Linked DNA regions of Homo sapiens: region 2 is linked to region 1. The links are contacts of gene promoters, found by promoter capture Hi-C in human tissues and cell types (Jung and others, 2019). All regions are on one chromosome and are shown on one strand. Each heading gives the region's core, a stretch centred on a gene start or on the middle of the fragment in contact. The rest is flanking DNA. Distances are from core to core; before and after follow the strand shown.

Evidence for each region. The method cuts DNA at HindIII sites, captures the fragments that hold promoters and counts their contacts. A contact is called where the count stands out against the background at its distance.
Region 2: a contact is called between a fragment that was not itself captured here and the fragment with the promoter of C1orf105 in region 1, in 1 of the 25 tissues and cell types used here (mesenchymal stem cells).

What each region holds. Positions count from the first base shown.
Region 1 is chr1:172,419,091-172,422,730 of GRCh38, reverse strand. It overlaps C1orf105 (chromosome 1 open reading frame 105), which reads right to left and starts at 2,046. Exons shown (of 7, transcript NM_139240.4): 1 at 1,825-2,046. The coding sequence starts at 1,845. LOC102724528 (a long non-coding RNA gene) reads left to right here. Exons shown (of 3, transcript XR_001738294.3): 1 at 1-234. The HindIII fragment of the contact is 11,853 bases long and covers 1-3,640 here.
Region 2 is chr1:171,733,976-171,737,615 of GRCh38, reverse strand. The region is part of intron 2 of VAMP4 (vesicle associated membrane protein 4); the gene reads left to right. Among named protein-coding and RNA genes, the nearest start is that of VAMP4, 6.3 kb to the left of the region's middle. The HindIII fragment of the contact is 4,216 bases long and covers 1-3,640 here.

The DNA of each region.
Region 1 (3,640 bases), core at 797-3,296:
AGGTCCAGAGATGCCATCCAAGAGCCAAGGACTGGAATCAGGGACCCAAAGAGCTGGCTTGGTGCTCTTTCCCACTGTGGCTAAGCTGGTACCTAAGCTCAAGACGGAGTCCCCTTTATTCTTCCCTCTGTTCTTCTCAAGCAGAAGTGGTCTCTCCTCGTAGCCACCAGACCTGTGAATGTGCTGGGTCACATCTGAAGCCAGTGCATTTCGGAGTTTCAGCTGAGGCCCACGGTATGTAGTACTTGGCTACTGCTACTGATTTTTCAGGGTCCAAAGGCTCTTTATTCAGCATGTGATGAAATCTGCCAAGACTGGGTCCTTCCCTTCAAGGCAGTTCCCTTTTGGCCCAGGGTATATCTAGAAATGTCATCCAAGAGCTAGGGCCTGCAATGAGTGCCTCAGGATTTTGCCCAGTACCCTATCCTACTCTGGCTGAACTGGTATCCAAGTTGCAAGACAAAGTCCTTTTCACTCTTCCCTCTTCTCTCCTCAAGCAAAGGAAGGAGTCCCTTTTGGAGCCATAAGCTGTGTTGCCTGGGGTTGGGGGAGGGGTGCTGTAAGCACTTACTTAGCCATCCTGGCTGGTGTCTTACTAGATCGTGCGCTCCCCAGTCCACTGGCTCAGAGCCCAGCACAGCACTAGGACTTGCCTGGGTATTGCAGTTGTTGTGGCCCAGACAGGCTTTCAAGTTTATTTAGGACCTCAGAGCACTTTAGCCCATGGTGGTGGAGGTAGTCAAAACTCAGTTTCTGAAACCTGGGATGGGCAATTCTCCTCTGGCTAAGGGTGGTCTAAATGGTCCCTCCATTGGCAACAGCTAAGTTCTGCCCCGTATTGGCAGCACTGAATTCTAGAGTCCCACAATCGCTGTGCCCTCCCTCCAAGTGCACAGATTCTCTCTCCACACTATGTGGCTGCTGCCAGGGGATGGGGGAGGGGTGGTGTCAGCAATTCAAGATTGTCTTTCTTATCTTCCTCAGTGCTTCTTTCAACAATACGAAGTTAAAACCAGGTACTGTGATCACTTTGTGATCACTGATTTTTGGTTCTTATGAAGGTGCTTTTTTGTGTAGATAGTTGTTAAATTTGATGTTCGTGCATGGAGAACAATCAGTGAAGGCTTCTGTTTGGCCATCTTGCTCTGCGTCCTCCCCAACTTAGGATTTTTTTACTTTATCATGGGTTCATCAGGGTATTGCATGCATTTTTGACTTACAATATTTTCAACTTGTGGTGGTTTATTGAGATGTAACCCTATCATAAGTCAAGGAGCACCTGTACTATGGTAATAGAGACAGCTAGTATATCCCTTTAAATAGGAAACATACAGTGTCATAAGCTCAATGTGATTTATTCAGATTTAGACCCTAGTAATTATAAAAGTCTATACAAGTTTTTTTTTCTTTCTCAGCAATCTTAACTTCCTGTGACTGAGATTCATTGTTTTAAAGTGCATTCACAGTTGAGAAGGTTTACTTCAGAATCTCAGGGAACTGCACTAAAGAATCTGGTATCAATTTTCTGAGGATTTAAAAAAATCATACTTAAATGCTGAGTTATAAAAGATGTTGGCAAGTACAACATTTTTTCCAAACTATACGATAAAGAGCATTGAAATTTATCATGCCCCAAACCCATTAAAATTATCTTCACCTGTAACTGAACATCAGCTGTTATTTCCTTACCTTCTTTTGGCTTTCAACTTCTAGGATGTCTGTTGAAACACCCCTCAATGTTTATGTGGCCTCCAAGGCATACAAACATTTACCAGGGTAACCCCATAAGGAAAGAATTGGAAGTTTCATTTATTTTTTTCCTACCTTTAGTTCTCTTTTTTCCATCTTTCAGATCTTTAGATGTTCTGAGTTTTTCTAGCTGGAGACTGGGGAAACCTAGCTCCCCTCACTGTGGCCAGTGGAAGACTGCTGTGGAGAACCTGAATCCAAAGTGTTTTTTGTTAGGAGACGAAGTAAACAGGCCAGTTTACAGTTTCAATACCAGTATGCCTTTTTCTCTACCAACATCTGTGTGATTTACATCTTGAATCATATAATTCCATTCAGAATGAAAAGCTCAGTTTCTGATTGGCTGAAATGAGTTCTAGTATTCCTTTCTTTGTTAGAAGTCAAAATCACAATGTTCTGGAACATTAGCATGTGTTGGGTAAAGTTGATAACAGTATACTAAAACTCAGATAGCTGCTTCAGTACTGAAGTCAGAACAGTTCTCCCTGGAAAGACAACCAAACTTTTCTCTTATTGTAGCACTACATTGTAATTGCTTATTTAGCTATTTTGTAAGCTACTTTTATTCTGTTACTTCTCTGGTATTCCCAGGGTCCAGGACATTATCATGAATTCAAGAAATGTTTGATGCATAAATAAAGGAATGAAAATATATAAGGAATATTATGTTTACTAAAGGCATAATAGTTTGGCTCTTCCTGACTATCCTGAGTTATGATCAACTCTGAAAAAGGGAGTAATTTTTCAAGTCTATTAAACATAGCAGGGTGGAGGTGGAGGTAAGAAGAGTTGGGGAAAGGTATATTATGAAACATAGAAATACTATTTACTAAATACATATTAACAAATCTTAGCATAATTTAATTTTACTCCAGGCTGCCCCCCATCCCTTTCCCCTGCCCTCTTTTTTCTTGCCTATAGAATGTAAGGAAGGGAACACACTTCTTTGTTAAGGAAAACTGAGTAAGGTTGTCATTTCATTCTGTTATGACTGGAGTTTTTCCTTCTCATCATTCATCAGGTCAATTTAAGTTTTATACATCTAAACTGTGTAACACTGCATATAAAAATAAGTCCATGTTTAAGACAAAGTGGAAAAGTACCAAACACTTTTAAAAAATGAATTGAAGAAAACCTTCTCTTTGACAACTTCGGTTTTCATTTGGGGAGGTGGTATGAAATCATCTAGGTACATTTTTGTCTATTGGGATGAAGAATGCTATCCACTAAGAATATTGATTTAAAAATCAAATGCCTGGACTGGAGGGGAAGGAAAGGACAAAAGACTGCATGCTATGTGCTATTTTACATCAAGTCACCTCCTTCCTGCTATACATGAGCTTCAGTTGATGCCTTGGTTTGGAGCCTTTGAACTTTCTTAGTTATCACTGATTTTAAATGGTAGTCACTGGACCGGGGATACAATTAAAATAATGTAACATGCCATATGAACATTTTAAACCAAGAAACTGATTTTTCATTTTTGAGTGGAGAACTCAGTCCTTAAAAAAATTTGTGGTCCGAAGAAACAGCATTACTAATGAGGACTCTCCCTTTTACAACTGGGGGTTCCTGCCCACATCTTCCAAATACCTCCTTTGCCAGGGCTTGCCTAGGTCAGATGTGAAGTAAATAGAACTGATGAATGATTTTTTTGACTCTCTTGTCATGTAGTTTTCTGTCATCTTAATATGCTGAAGGGGAGCACATTCAGAAGTGATCTCATTTGAGAAGGACTACTTTCAAGTTCTATTTTAGGCCACATAAATTTTCAAAAAATAAAATTCTGAATTAAATCTTAAACCTTTGGGAAGGCTTCAGATCACATATTTGGTGGAATGTACTATATTACCTAAATAATAAACATTTTATTTGGATACATCTTTGGGAT
Region 2 (3,640 bases), core at 335-2,834, 680 kb after region 1:
TAAATAAACTAGCTAACATCAGTTCAGGTCAAATTTTCCTCCAAAACTTTTTGATTTTCAGAAGCTTTTAGATTTTGGAATTGCAAATAAAGGTCCCCAGACCTGTAATTATCTTATGTTCCAGAGTATCTTTTATATAATGCTTCAATTTCTAGTTTATTCCAGAACATTCTATGCAAATATATATAAATCTAGAAATTATGCCGCATTTAAAAGACAACATTTTATATGAATGTTGTAGGCAGATTACTTTTAGAATAAGTACTCAATACATATTTATTGGGGGAAATAATTCACGTTCTTATTTTTTTAATGCACCATTCTGAAGCCCTCCTTCCTTTCCTTCTTGTCTTGATTCATTCAACAAATATGTATTGACCACCTCCTATGTGCTAGGCACTGGGCTAAAAATTGGAAGACATAGTCTGTGCCCTTGCAAAGCTTTTAGTCTGCTTTGTTTTACATGCTCTTTTTGGACAACCTCAGAACTTCATATTATCCACTCTGTCCACCATCTTATGACTTTTAGTCATAAGTTTCTTTTAGTACAACACAGGAAACATTTTCTTCCCCTTATTCTAACCCTTTGTACAGCTTTTGCGGTTTTGTGTGTTTCTGATGGTTTGTTTTTATTTTTTGAGACCAGGGTCTCGCTCTGTCATTGAGGCTGAAGTGCAGTGGTGCAATCACAGCTCACTGCAGCCTCCACCTTTTGGGCCCAAGCTATCCTCCCACCCCAGCCTCCTGAGTAGCAAAGACTACAGGTGCATGATATCATGCCCAGCTAGTTTTTGTTTTTCTCGTAAAGATGGGGTTTTGCCGTGTTGCCCAGGCTGGTCTCAAATTCCTGAGCTCAAGTAATCCACCTGCCTTGGCCTCCCAAAGTGCTGGGATTACAGACATTTGACACTGCACTCGGCCTGTTTTGTTTTGTTTTGTTTTGTTTTGTTTTGTTTTGTTTTGTTTTTTAATGGGGAAATAGAATCCACCAATAGATTAATTGCTAGCAAGCTTTTACTAATAAACTTTAAGGAGTCACCAATGATTTCCATGTTGCCAAATCCAGTTACTCCTTCTTTGCCATAATTTCAACTGCTTACTAGCATTTGGTGCAGTTTCAACCATTTTGGTCACCTATCTTTTCCTCCATGCCATGGTGAAACTCTTAGTGTCTGCTTGAGCTAGTTCCCCATGCAAGGAATTGAGAAATGCCTTGAAATATACCAAGTCTGGGTGAACCCGGAAGGCTCTGGCCGAGAGAAGGCAGAGGATGATCAGGGATTGAGAAATCACTCAGGGATAATCCAGGGTCTCTTTCTTTAATGTAATATCTTTCAAGATAAACCTCCAAGAAAAAGTGATTCAGAAAATTTGATATACCTGTGCTGGAATTCCATACACTGAAGATTTACTATCAAAAGCATGTCTTGGCCAGGCGTGGTGGCTCGCGCCTGTAATCCCAGCACTTTGGGAGGCCGAGGCGGGCAGATCACTTGAGGTCAGGAATTCAAGACCAGTCTGGCCAACATAGTGAAACCCCATCTCTAGCAGAAGTACAAAAATTAGCCAGGTGCGGTGGTGCACACCTGTAATCCCAGCTACCTGGGAGGCTGAGGCAGGAGAATTGCTTGAATCTGGGAGGCAGAGGTTGCAGTGAGCCGAGATTGTGCCATTGCACTCCAGCTTGGGTGACAGAGTGAAATTCCATCTCAGAAAGAAAAAAAAAGCATGTCTTTACAAAGCAGAAGGTTTGGCGAAATACTAAACCCATTCAGAGAATAAATGTCAATTTGTTAAAGTAAATGATACCAATTGTGAACCTATAAAGGAACCCAGTGTAAAACAACACAGACTTGATATGCATCCAGTAAAAGCTGACTGAAAGCTCCTGATGAATATTCAGTGATCAGCGTGCACAAAGCATGCTGAAATATTTTTTAAATCATCGGTTAGAAGAATCTGAGCCTCTTTCCTATTGCCCCAAGGAAATCTTTAGTCACTTACCCAGAGATGCTTGCAAAGCATTAATATCCTGGAAGATGATCAATAAATGCTGACAGTTGATTGACTGATATCTGAGATATGTCAGGTAAATACCTCAGTCCTGGACAGAGAGCCCCTAAGTCACATCTGCCTTTGTGTAAGATGAAGACTGAAGTATGGAAATGTATGTAGTAAAATCACCTCTCGGAACTTGTTTGTAATTCATACAATCTATGTCAATTTTGAAAAATGTATGTAAAGCAGAGAAGGTTGTAGCCAAATTCAATGTATAGTATGCAAGAGTATATTATTTAATAATTTTTAATTGATGCAAATCCCATTAATTTTATAGTTTTATTTTTACATGATTTTAAACTGAAACTATTTATATTTCCTAAGTTCCCCTGTGTTTCTTTCTCACAATCACTGCTGAACGTAAATTTGTTGTTCACTTAATGGAATCACTGTTAAGGACACAGTCACTTGAATATGATTGCTTTTTAAAAATCAAGTCCAGGCGTGATATACTAGGATCACAGTTTCATGGCATGTTGGTCATAATCCTGAGAAAATAGTGACAAAATTATTATTTGTAGATATTAAATACCAGTTTAATAATATGTGTGGAAATCAGATTAAATAGTACATAAAGCCCACCCTAATAACAAGGGCAGGAAAAATTACTTCAAGAAAAACAATAGTAAACCTTAAATTAAAAATAATACAAATAAATAAGCTTTATGAATACATTTTTAAATTTAAAATGTATTGTCTCAATAAATTCCACTGCTGAGACTGTAATTGTATCACTTTCTCCTTATATTCTTCATTGATTATTAGTATATTAGACACCAGAACTGAATAAAATTGACTGTTTCAAGAGAACTCCTTTTTGATGTTTATTATATTATGAAGTTTGATAACTGATTGGTTAGAATAATATATAAATTACTTTTAAAATCTTTTAAAAGTTTTGTTCCTCTTTCCTATTATACTTTTTTGGTAATAGCTTTATTGAGATAAAAGTCACGTACCATACAATTCACCCACTTAAAGTGTACAATTCAGTGAGTTTTATTATATTCACAGAGTTGTGCAACAATCACCACAATCAATTTTAGGATATTTTCATTAGCCCAAAAAGAAATGCTGTGCCCTTTTGCAGTCATCTCCCATTTTCTTTATCCCCTCAGCCTCTAAGCAACTGCACTCCTATAGATTTGTCTATTCTGGACGTTTTCTGTAAATGGAATCATATAACATATAGCCTTTTGTGACTGGCTTCTTTGACTTAGCATAATGTTTTTAAGATTCCTCAACGTTATAGTGCATATCAGTGCTTCATTTTTTTTTTTTTTTTTTTTTGAGACGGAGTCTCCCTCTGTTGCCCAGGCTGGAGTCCAATGGTGCGATCTCGGCTCACTGCAACCTCCACCTCCTGGGTTCAAGTGATTTTCGTGCCTCAGCCTCCCAAGTAGCTGGGATTACAGGCGTACACCACCACGCCCAGCTAATTTTTGTATTTTTAGTAGAGATGGGGTTCCACCATGTTGGCCAGGCTAGTCTCGAACTCCTGACCTCAGGTGATTCACCCACCTCGGCCTCCCAAAGTGCTGGGAGATCTTCATTCCTTTTTATTGCTAATAATATTCCCTTA